Linked DNA regions of Homo sapiens: region 1 is linked to region 2. The links are contacts of gene promoters, found by promoter capture Hi-C in blood cells and fetal thymus (Javierre and others, 2016). All regions are on one chromosome and are shown on one strand. Each heading gives the region's core, a stretch centred on a gene start or on the middle of the fragment in contact. The rest is flanking DNA. Distances are from core to core; before and after follow the strand shown. Region 1 overlaps IBTK (inhibitor of Bruton tyrosine kinase). Region 2 holds the start of ELOVL4 (ELOVL fatty acid elongase 4).

Region 1 (6,120 bases), core at 1,446-3,945, 2.2 Mb after region 2:
TTGAGCACCACAGCTAAAGTACATTGTAAGTATTTTGAAAAATACTTGCAGTATAAATTCATAATCAAAACAAAATTTTTAATGTATCCAGTTATTCATTTCCTATGCAAATTAAACTAAAAATTAAAGATAATTATACAGGTATGGGATCTAAAAAGCACATACACACATAATTAAATGTATAAAGAATGGATGAGGTGAAAGAATGTAAAAAAGGTACTTGATTACTTGGCAACTGATCGTTTGTTTTGAGTATCTGAAAATGAGTCTGGCCCTATAATTTCTTCCACATCTTCTTAGTCTGAGCCATTTAATTTTTATTTTCTAACAGACCATGTAGCTGGAAAAACTTTTGTTTTCTTCACAGAAGTTATAAATAATTAAAATTAGTGAACTCTAGGGCACCCAAAGACATCTCAAAATCTTTTTAAGCTGTACTAAATATTTGAGATTTTAATAGTAAGCAACTTACAAACATCTCCCTCTCATTATCAATTAATGAAAAGCCTCCCATTCCTAATAAACAAAATTTAAGGCTTTTAAGTTTGTATAGCAAATGTTTTCCACTCTCTTCCAGTTACCAACCCTTGCTATGCAATAGAAAATATTTCTAGACTATCGAGCCTGTGCATATCTTCCCTTCTCTTTCGCCTCAAAATACCTACTTTAGCACGTATCCGAATCACCTGGAGGGCTTGTTAAAACAGATTGCCGGGCACCCCTTCCTGTTTCCAATTCAGTAGAGGCAAAGCCCATGAATTTGTATTATCACATGTTCCCAGTGATGTTGATGTTGCTACTCTAGGAATCAATAAAATTATCCTCAATTTCTTTCCCTCAGTTTAAGAAAATTAAGTAGCACTTCTTTCCTTTCCAACAAGTTTAAATTTGTACTCTTGGTTTTATCTTCCTTCTCATTCTACCGTTATTTCTGTATTTCCAGCATCTCAGTCTCTTTCTATATGCATTGACTCCTCTCTGCCTTCTAGATGCACAGACCTCCTTTTTCAAAAATATATATAAAACAAATACACCGTCTATTTAAAAGTTACCATCTATGTCTCTCATAAATCTGTTCACTGCCAAATTTCTAGGTAAAATATCCTTGAACCAAAACCTCTACATTCGGCCAGGCGCGGTGGCTCACCCTGTAATCCCAGCGCTTTGGGAGGCTGAGGCAGGCGGATCACTTGAGGCCAGGAGTTCGAGACCAGCCTGGTCAACATGGTGAAACCCCGTCTCTACTGAAAAAAAAAAAAAAATACAAAAAATTAACCACGCGTGCTGGCACATGCTTGTAATCCCAGCTACTTGGGAGGCTGAGGCAGGAGAATCCTTGAACCCAGGAGGCAAAGGTTGCAGTGAGCTGAGATCGCACCACTGCACTCCAGCCTGGGCGACAAGAGCGAAACTCCGTCTCAAAAAACAAACAAAATCTCTACATTCTATTACTTCTCTCCATTACTTAGATCATCTTTCAGAGTCCAAGCAGGAAACAGACAGCACTTTCAACTTGGGAGAATTATTATTAAATTATTTATAAAAGTCTGGGTAGGATGTAGGAAAACCACAATGGATACTGCAGTTAGTTGGGCTAGATACAATGCAAGATCCTTTGCCATTCTTAGGCCTGAGGGTGTGGGAAAGCAACATCCCCAGAAGCTGGAGAGATTGTCATACGGAGAGAGCTGCCCGACAGGAGCTGTGACCTTCCCGATTGTGGCTCATAACAACATCATGAGAGAGGGCAGAAAAAAAAGCTTCATTCTCTTTCTCCTGCCAACACGCCAATATTCTGCTGGTGCTCCAAATGGTTATCAAGCCTGTGCATATCTTTCTCTTACGGCTCAAAATACCTACTTTAGTACACATCAGAATCACTTGGAGGGTGATAACTGGATGTCAGAGGGAAAATAAGCTGGTTGGTAAAGTCCTAGAGATTAATTTCACAAGATATAGTAGAGAACAAAGGATGGATCTGCAAATAAGCAATATCCCTTACCATATGGTCCATCTCTTTTGTTCCTCAGATTCTTATCCTTTATTTAGGTAGACACATTTATGTCCTCAACACAGGAAACATACAATCATACAAAGTCCTACAAGCTACTATTTCATAAGATTGATGTCAATTTAGTCATATTCTTCTCCTGTACACATGGAACATTCTCCAAGACAGCACATATACTAGACTATAAAAGATATTTCAACAAACTTAAAAGGACTGAAACAATACAAAATAAGTTCTCCAAATTTAACAAAATTAAATTAGCAATCAATAACAAACACATATTTGGTAAGAATTCCCAAATACTTGAAAATTAAACAATATACTTTTAAGTAATCCATAGTTCAAAGAAGAAATCAAGATGAAATTTAAAAATATTTTGAACTGAATGAAAATAAAAACATGACATATACAAATTTATGAGATGCAGCTAAAGCAGTGCTTAGAGGGAAATCTATAGGTCTACATGCCTGTATTTGAGAAAAAGAGAACTCTCTAAGCCTGAATGTATAGAAAAGAACAGCAAATTAAAGCTAAAGGAAGCAGAAAATAATAATAAAGAGAACAGAACCAAAGAAAAAGAAAAGAGAGCAGAGAAAAATCAATGAACCCCAAGCTGGTTCTTTGACTTCAATAACTTCTTTGACAACTTCAATGTTGACTGATATGGTTAAAGAAAAAAAAGAGAGAGAGAGAAAATAAAGATTACCAAAATTACAAAAGTAGGGAGGAACTTGACCACCAAACCTTATGAAATTAAAAGGACTGTAAGGCACTACTATGAACAAACTAGACAACTAAGATGAACCAGATAAATTCCTAGAAAGAACAAATTATTGAAACTGAATAAAGAACATATAGAAAATCTCAACAGGCCTGTAATATGTAAAGAAATAGAAAAAATAATAATAATTTAAAATCTTCCCACAAAGAAAATCCCACACCTGGATGATTCCACTAGTTAATTCTATCAAATATTTAAATAAGAAATAATACCAATCATTTATGAACACTTCCATAAAAGTGAATCCTTCCCAATTCACTCTATAAGGCTGCTATTACAGTGATACCAGAGTAAAAGATAGGAAAAAAAAAGGAAAAGAAAAAGAAAACCACAGACCGATATCTCTCATGAATACAGATGCAAAAGTCTTCATTGAAATGTTAGCAAATCAAATCCAGGACCTCTTTCTGAAGTGCTGTCATGGTCCACTTCTTGACTTACTGGTAAATTACTTAGCTAAATATTTTTGTCTTGTGCACTTACCTCTTTATGTTATGGTTCAAGATTTTAAAAGATTTAAACATACACATATACAAGAAAGAAAAGAATGCCTAGTCTATGTTCTCAAAGTACAAGTAATTTAGTAAAAGACTAGATTAATAGAAAAACAAAAGTAATGGCAGAATATGACAAGTACCCTGAAAGGTATAGGGTTACAAGGAAATGAGAACATAGCTGATCCATGTATGCTACTGTTTTTATGTTACTTTATGTTTGAGGGTGTATGGAGGGAAACCAGAAAAACTATAAAGGAAAGAGAATTTTGATTGCCTTAATTATGGATAGGTAGAATTTTATCTGAAGAAAAAGAAAAATTTAGGTAGAGATCAGCATGAGCAAAGCTTGAACCATATTTGGGAGAAACATCAGGTCAAGTTTGGCTCCACCACTATATGTACAATTTTTTTTTGAGATGGGGTCTCACTCTGTCACCCAGGCTGGAGCACAGTGGCATGATGTTGGTTCACTGCAACCTCCGCCTCCCTGACTCAGGTGATCCTCCTACCTCAGCCTCCTAAGTAGCTGGGATTACAGGCGCCCACTACCACATTTGGCTAATTTTTGTATTTTTAGTAAAGACGGGGTTTCACCATGTTGGTCAGCCTGGTCTTGAACTCCTGGCCTCAAGTGATCCACCAGCATCGCCCTCCCAGAGTACTGGAATTATAGCATGAGCACCACGCCCGGCCAGCTTTCTTCAATTTATAAAATGAAGAGAATATACATTAAAATTAATCAATAAGGCTTCAGATCTAAAATTTTATGAAAGAGCTATTTACACCTTATCATGAACAAATATATACACCCTGGCCTCCAAAACAGTTAAAGGGAATCAACCCAGACATAACTAGCAATGCTTTCTCAAATGACTGGATATTGCTCCTATATAAAGCTAGGTTTTCTTAAATTTATTTTAAAAACCATCTCTTTAGGACTTGAAGAAGAGTCCTGAATCCCAATATTTTGTCAACAAATTTGACTTTACCTGATTAGCAGTCTTCTTGATTTTGCAAGTTTTAAGCATATTCTGCCTCTGACATACCCTTATCCCAATGTCCTACCCAACCATCGCTTTTTCAGGCTGAAGAGTTCTGCCAGGAGGCAAAGGTTGCAGTCAGCCAAGATCCTGCCACTGCACTCCAGTCTGAGTGATGGAGTGAGATTGTGCCTCAATTAAAAAAAAAAAAAAAGAGTTCTGTAATTGTTTTCATAAATCTTAAAGATCTCTCTATCCCACTGATATTTTAAATTTGTCATTTCCAGTATTTATTCAATTCTATCAGGTCTTTTTGAGGTTATGGAATTAGAGATGAATACTGTAGCAGAATAATGTTATTTTGTTAGGGGAGAAAGAAAACCCTTATCACTTTCCTGGGCTTTTTGACAGCAATGTGTCAGATAGCTATCTTCATGGAATTATTTATGAAGAAATACAGTTTATGACAGTGTTTCTCTTTAACTTTACTAGCAAAAGAACTCCTTTTTTCCCAATAAAATTATATATAATACCTCACTACATAAAACAGACCATAAAGTGCAACTGCTCTGGTTGTAGTTTGTAACTGCCTAAAGCCTCACAGATGCGGTTCAGCTCTTGCCCCTCTTTCACACCCCATCCAACAAAGACCCCCAAGAGTGCTTCCCAGGCAGCACGGAGGACAGCAAGAAAATCATCACTTTACAGCATCTGTAAATATTAAAGATGTCAACATATACAGAAGAATCAAAGCTTCAAATGAAATCAATTACTTCAAAAGGCTTCTTTACTGCAACATCAATAGAACATTTATAAAATTCATTTCTCAATTTACTCAAACACACATACAAAAATTCACAAGTTCATATTTAGAAAACTGCCTTTTTAAATCCGTCTTAGAATAAATACAGCATCAACTTAACCATATACTGGCCACTAGTGTAGCACATCAGAAAAAATAATTATTAACTCTTTCCATAATAAATGTCAATATAGTAAAAAATGTCAAGCACACATTAGTGAAATGGATCAAGATCATTTTTTATTGCACATCTGCTTACATGTCTGCTGCTTTTGGGCAGAGTTAAACCTGACATATTGAGTCAGTTTCCGTCATTTTACATCAACTAAATTATAGCAGTGAATTGCTTATGTGTCTCCCAGGCTTACCTTCCAGAAACTAGAACATTAACCTTTCCAATTTATCTAGGTACTGAAGCACAAATTTAACATTTGTTTTTGCAAAATTTAAACACTCAGAAACAAACCAAACAACATCCTATACAGAAAACAATTTTTATGTCTAGATATACAATTGAGGTTCAGAGAACTTCTGATTATACAGTATTGTAAAGGTAATGATAATCCAACCCTCTTCCAAACTATTTAATTCCTGTATATGTAATTAAGCATTTATTTTCAGAAATTTTAACACTTTCAGCAATTGATTCTCTCACAATTAGGCATTTTTAAGATCCTCCATCCCACCAAAAATAACCCACAATGACTCCAAATCTTGTTTTTCTTTTTTAAAACGCTATTCTCTTGGGACTAAACTGTTCAGAATAATCAGTATTCTTATTCCCTTTCCACTGTACTCTACTGCTCAATGCAAAATGGAGAATATGTGGTCCAAATAGAAATATGGCATTTGTGCAGGTCAAGCTTTGAAGAGACATGGACCACATGATTAGCCTGATTTTTAAAAAGCAACAAGAATGGTGACACAACTATTACACCAAACACAAAATTCTGGCCATTAATGAATCAGAAGTAATAACTGATGCTCCTACTTTAAATTCATCAATGCCATATTTAAGAAGTCAAGCAACAACACATACTTGGCAAAAT
Region 2 (6,648 bases), core at 1,797-4,296:
GTACAAAGTGTTAATACTGTAGTAAAAGTAACATTTTTGTTGTTAACATTATTATGGACCATATTTTGTATTTGCTACATATGTGCCTCTGAAAAGCCCAGTTTTCAGACATTGCTTTGGATATGTTTGGATATTTAAAGCACCATTTGATATAATAGCACAAAATGGCATTTAATGAATTAATAAAAGAATGAAAGAAGCATGTAACTACAGCACTAGGAATGAGAGCAGCCAAGGACAAGGAGCCTACCTCATTTCTTGCTCTCCCTCAATAATTTGCATCCTTTCACCACACTCATCACTATTTCTCAAGACCATCTTTCTATCCCGCCCATTTCTGTTTCCCCTTCTTTCCAAACATTTGACTCACCAACTTTTGTTTAACCTCATCTTATAAGCTACTTTTCTATTTTGATATCCCCCACCCAGATTTTCATCAAATTATGCTGAGAGGTGGAATCAGAGCAGAGTGAATGAGTCCAAAAAAAAAAAAAAAAAAAAAAAAGGAACACGAGGGGCATAGAATGAGGGAGAGTAAACGTAAATGGGACACCACAGACTTCAGGTCTATTCGGCCTGGACCTGAAAAATACTCCTCCTCACACAGCAGTACAGCAGAACAGACTATATCCACTAAGCCTCTCTGTTGGTTAAGAAATACCATCTGCCTACATAAGGTAGCTCATTACAGAAAGCAAGGAAGCAGTCTCAGGTTTCGTAAGTGGATAGTCAAAGCATAGGCAAATACCTTCCTTCGGCCTGCTAGTGAGAGGTCACTTGTGTTCTAAGGCTACTCTCACTTCTCAGGCTTGGCCCACAATATTATATTATTTTATATGCCCTTCGAAGCCTAGTAGCAAGCTTTCACATGCGGCAACTGCACAAAATTTCCTGTTTCATTTGTGTGTGTGTGGTTTCTTTTACACAAACATCATCAGGAAGGAATTCACCATCACAGAAAGGTGTATTCTACCTTTGCCCTCAATTTTTCCTTCTGAGACTCAAGAGATGGGAAAGCTCCGGGATAGGATAGGAATGACAGGACCGAGAACTCCTGGGTGTGGCTCTGGCTATATGGAGACTGGAGTATCTCAACAGTGTCTGACTCCTAGGTGTGCGAAGTGCAATTACCTGCTAAAGAACTTGTCTGATGTTCAGCTCTATACAATTGTGTAATGGGAAGCCCTGATGCAACGTTTAAAGAACCGAAATCACAGACGTGAAGGGAAGGGCACATCTTTCCCAGTTTTTGCAGGTACAGTGTAACATCAGTGTAATAGCGCATAGAAACAAAAAAAAAAACTGAAGAAACACTCCATTGAAAACTGCCTTTTAACCATTTTCAGCTGTAATGGCTTATTAAATAGCTTATTTCCCAGTGTCAAAGTTGAGATCTTCTGAAAAAGAACATACTTTTCTAAAGAAGTGAATGCAGTATTAATGCCAAATAATCATTTTGTCTCTCACAAAAATAATTCCAGCATACGTTTTTCCCAAAACATAAGCCCTATGTATCGGACTACATTCATGCTGTAACCACTGTCTAATTTCCTCTAACAACAATGAACACAAAAACTACAGGAGTACATTTTCATTTCGAAGTAGGGAAGGCAGAGTCATAAGATGGAACGTTAATATCCTTCACTGATAGGATGCAGTGTGATACTGCAAAAGGACCAGAAAAATTGACCTCGTAAAATCATTTCTGAAATCCTTTAAACCTTATTTTAGATTTCAAAGACTTTTAAATGCTTTAAAATCAAAAGCAGCGAAGCAAATGAAGAAATAAACAGTACAATGTAAAAATATAATATCACAGTTGGACGCTAGGAAAGCTGCATAAATCAAACAATTGACAGCCCTGCCAAATTAACTGCAACAGCTAAAGAAAAGTTTGCTGATTTAAGAACTGTATATATGTAGGCATCTGGGACAACCTCTAGGTGTTGCTGTAGAGACCCCCTTCCTAAAGACTGATTTCTTCCCCGGTGTTTTGGCCTCCCCCTCCCCCTGACTGCACTGCAGTGCGCAAAGCCATTATAGACAATCACTTCAAACATATTTGCTGTTGAAAATGCCTCGGAAACTAACATTCTTCAAGGTTCAAGGAGCCAAACAATATTATTTTACTTTTCAGTCCGAATTATACTATAGATGAAGGAGCTAGATAGAAGAAAAGATTAGCAGGGTTCTGTCAAAGCGACCAGGAGGCTGAAGAAACCTCCTGTACCTTCAGCTGCCCCTGAAGCCCTCCTTCCTCCCCAGCCCGCTCTCCATACAAAATAGGACTAAATGTTAAAAGGAATCCTGTGCACGGGGAAGAGGGAGGCGAGCTCGGGAGATGTGGGAGCACAGGGTGGGGCGGCTCCTGCGAGGAGCTCCTGGCTGCACAGGCTCCATCTGATATGTCAGCTCCCGCATCCGAGAGCTGATGAGAGATGGAGGGAGCTCAGAAGAAAACCCTGCGAGTGTCGGGGGAGGGGAGGCCTTAACATTCGGATCAGATTAACCAGTGCTCAACCGCAGTGCCCGCGCCGGCCCCTCCGCTGATCCGCAGCATCCGAAAGCCGCAGGGCGCGGGGGCCTGTGGGGCCGGGCCCGGGAGCTGCGAGACCAGGGGCCGGTGACCCCCCGCGGGGGACCGAGCGAGGATGGGGAAGTCAGCGGCTTTACCTGCGATGGACCAGGTCCAGCGGTAGAACTCTACCGTGTCGTTGAGTGCCGTGGACACTACGTTTAGGACACTACCCGGCTCCGAGTCCAGGAGCCCCATCGCGGCGATGAGCGGGCGCTGGCGGCAGGAGAAAGCGGAGACCCAGAGAGAGGGCTGACCCCGGAGGCGGTGGCGGCCGACGGGGCGAGCGGCGGCCGGGAACCCCTCTAACGGCGGCGGCCCGGCTGCGTCTTCTCCTGCTCCTCAAGGCGCCGCGGCGGCGGGGATGCGGCAGAAGGCAGGGCCAAGCGGAAGGCGTCGTCAAGGTTCCCGGGAGAAAGACGAGGAGGTGGAGGAGGCCCAGCCGCCAGCACAGTGCGCTGCACCAGTCTGCAGCCTCGCGCAGCCGCCCCTCCAATCTCCTCAGCCGGCGTCACGTGGCCGCGCGCGGGGGCGGGGGGCCGGCCGCCCCTCCTCCCTCCCTCCCTCCCTAGTATTGGGACTCGCTGGCGTAGGGATGCTGCGCTCAAGGGTGCGACGCCAACTGGGCTCGCGCAGGCGCGCGCCGTCGAGCGGGAGCGGGACACCTGGGCTCCTCCTTGGCCCCTCCCCGCACAAGTCGCCTCATTAGCCTTCCCCGCCCCTGTCCCGGGCATCGGCCCCTGCGGAGGAGTTCACCGCCTCCCCACGGGTGATTTCTTATCCGCCCCGGATACGTCCTGGGAAACAGGACACGGGAAGAATGGGTGTTCTGTGGGCAAAGATGAGGTAGGCGTGGTGCTTTGGTCCTTACCTGACACTCACCTCGATTTCACTTGTGTTCCTGTTTCTTTGACCTCCACCAGCACATGCCTGTCACCATGACAAGAGAAGTGCATGTGTTATGCCTCTGAAGAAGTGAAGGGTATTTGTCTTCCATGCTTCAGCGATGGAGAATAGACTTTGGGGTCGACCCATGAACAAATCAACATATAATTGCATGAATGCTTGCATGTGTTTTGTAGACTCTTTTACTATACATGGAATGAACAAAGCAATATAATTGTGCTAAATTAGGCCATTAGTAGTTCAGAGAAGAGGGAGAACCGAGAGGGGCTTACAGGTGAAGTCCGCTTGAACCTGAAGAAGTTGAGGTGAATCTGAAAAAGATAATCGCTCAAGAGGCAAAGGGCAATTTAGTGTAGAGAGGAAAACAAAGTAATTGTGGCTATTTTGAAAAATTGTTTAGATAAGGTATAGGAGAGCCTACCCTTGAAAAGTAAAAAAAATACAGTACTTGGAATTCATAATTTGATGGTTTCTCACATAAAACAAGATTTTTGAGAATAGTCCTTTCATCTACTTGTTTTTTAAATGTGTCACCTACTTGTTTAACCTTTTCTCCACTTGCTCATTTTGGATGCTACATTTTAAAGACCAGTGAGTCAAGTGTCTTATTGTTCCTGCCCTTTCACACTGTTAATGTGAATACTATCTTTTATCATACTGAAATGATCTATTTCCCAATTGACCTGGTTATATATTGTCTATATTTTATATTGGAAGCATCCTAGATGGTAAGAATTATTTTTGGTTGCTTGATGAGTACCTAACCCAGTGCTATAAACAGTAATTAATAAATATTTATGATGACAAAAATATAACATGTCTTTCAGAGAATAATAAGGATTATTGTGAGTGGCAGGAACTTTATTGCCGAACTAAAGCAAACACAGACTTCTTTAAATGCCCTATTCTTGAAATTAACCAAATAAAATGTTAATTTATTAATTTGTCAAATATATTTGCAAATCTAAAGTTTTCTGGATTGGAATGACAATTTCTCAAGTCTCAATCCTAAATTATGTGTAACAGATTCTAGTAGCTATATAAAAAAAAGAAATCCAGTCAAGTCTCTTCATTTAGGGAGTGGATAAATACCCATTCATTTACAGTGATGATCTAACAAAGTTCGGATTAGTTCGAGCTTCACCTAAAAATTTGATTACTATTTCTATATTGTGGAATCCTGGAGTTTTTAGGGAGAACAGATCTCTACCCATACTTCCATTCACACACGCAAAACTGCAGCATAATACTTAATACAAGGAGAAATTGTTAAAACAGCTTCAGGTATTTCCCTGGTATTTCTTCTACCGTGGAGGTCAACTTAAGTCCCTATTCACTAGGGGGTGCCAGTCACGTATAAGAAAATCATAGATGAGATAACCTTCAGCTGGGAATGGCGGTCACACGGATATCACCGTGTCCACACTCCACCTGTAAGAGTAGAATGTTTATTTACATTTATAAGCTGTCTAAACATATACCAAGAACCAGAACATAAAACTTACCCAATCTGGAACCCTATTACCTGGCATGAATAAGTGGTTTGTAAATACCAGTGACTGCCCAGAACCAAAGCCTACCTTGTTTAGTTGTGCAAAGGGAGGGAAACCCGCATGTCTGCCACCTAGAATAACAGCCATCTAACCAAAATCTTGGTAGCATCATAACAGAGTAAAAGCAAATACAAGCAACAACAGCATCTGCAAACTTTGAGAACAGAGTTCTTTCATGTGGATCAAATGCAAATAGGATACAGTTACCTACAAAACCTAAAGGAGAGGACATTTTATCATAAATTTTTTTGTATAAAATAGCAATATTTTTTTCTTTTTAGAAACAGGGTCTCACTCTATCAGCTAGGCTGGATTGCAGTGGTGTAATCATAGGTTAGTGCAACATCGAATTCCTGGGCTCGAGCTATCCTCCTGCCTCATCCTCCTGCCTCAGCCTCCTAAATAGCTGATAGAGAAGGAGGACTGGCTGTGTTGCCCCGGCTGGTCTCAAATTCCTGCCTGCAAGCAATCCTCCTGCCTTGGCCTTCAAAACCACTGGGATTACAGGAGTGAGCCACCACACCCAGTACAAAATATTTTTAAATGTCCTACAGTCCATACAAGGTTAGCAACATAAATCAAGCTATCCATCTTTTTTTTCCTAGTCCACCTTTCCATGTTGGTAATATTGTCAGCAACCTCTGCTTTCAAAGAAAAGTGAACCTGGAAGCCTGTTGAGTCAGGAGTAAAAAGAAATAACCTAATTAAAGAGTTGTAGAGAAAGACTTTGAATCTTCTAGAAGTAAATTTTGCTACATGGATGCTACTTAGAGAAAATGGAGAAAATTGTTGATAACACTAACTACTATTAGTTCCAGTCTTTTGTTTTATTCTGCTCATTACTCCTCCCCCACGTTATAGCCATCATATAACACAGGTGCTTGACTAACTTGGAATTACAATGTTTTCCACGAGATATGTTTCATTCAAACTTTTAAAGATGTTTACCTTTTTGTTAGCTTGTATGAATTATTTTTATTTTATTTAAATGGACATAGATTATCCTGATAATACATTAGCACAGATAAAATAACAAAAAAAGAAACAAAATGAAAATCCCCCCTATAATTTTGTCTCCCATTCTAAATAAATTTTACATGCCTATATAAGCCTTTTTTTCTTAACACAGATGGTTTTTTAAAATAATGCTACTCTATAATCTGCTTTTTTAAAAATTTAATACATCAGGAATACTTTTCAACGTAATACCAAGTACTTAATATTCCATTATATGGATACACACTCATTTATGTAGCCATTTACCCTATAGATTAGCATTTAGATTGTTTCAAATTTGAACTACTGTATCAATTGGGCTATTAGTATCCACAATATGCAATTTTGTGCACTTGTTTAATAACTCTTAGCATAAATATTTACAAGGGAAATTTCTGGGTCAAAGGTTTGGGACTTTTTTTAGGGGTGGAGAGGTGGTTGTTTTTGTTTTGAGACGGCATCCCACTGTCTCGCCCAAGCTGGAGTGCAGTGGCCCAGTCTCGGCTCACTGCAACCTCTGCCTCTCGGGTTCAAGGGATTCTCATGCCCCAGCCTCCCGAGTAGGTGGGATTACGGGTGTGTGCCATCACACCCAGCTAATTTTTGTATTTTTATTAG

Evidence for each region. The method cuts DNA at HindIII sites, captures the fragments that hold promoters and counts their contacts. A CHiCAGO score of 5 or more calls a contact.
Region 1: a contact is called between a fragment that was not itself captured here and the fragment with the promoter of ELOVL4 in region 2, in 1 of 17 cell types (neutrophils). The highest score is 5.8, in neutrophils.

Annotation. Positions count from the first base shown.
Region 1 is chr6:82,164,949-82,171,068 of GRCh38, forward strand. IBTK (inhibitor of Bruton tyrosine kinase) reads right to left here. Exons shown (of 29, transcript NM_015525.4): 29 at 5,039-6,120. Among named protein-coding and RNA genes, the nearest start is that of LINC02542, 66 kb to the left of the region's middle. The HindIII fragment of the contact is 1,874 bases long and covers 1,759-3,632 here.
Region 2 is chr6:79,944,507-79,951,154 of GRCh38, forward strand. ELOVL4 (ELOVL fatty acid elongase 4) reads right to left here and starts at 3,047. Exons shown (of 6, transcript NM_022726.4): 1 at 2,674-3,047. The coding sequence starts at 2,773. It overlaps LOC124901350, which reads right to left and starts at 5,127. Exons shown (of 2, transcript XM_047419628.1): 1 at 5,062-5,127; 2 at 2,881-3,505. The coding sequence starts at 3,309. The coding sequence ends at 2,881. LOC124901351 (a long non-coding RNA gene) reads left to right here and starts at 3,299. Exons shown (of 3, transcript XR_007059656.1): 1 at 3,299-3,421. RefSeq lists a silencer at 3,107-3,156. The HindIII fragment of the contact is 8,446 bases long and covers 860-6,648 here.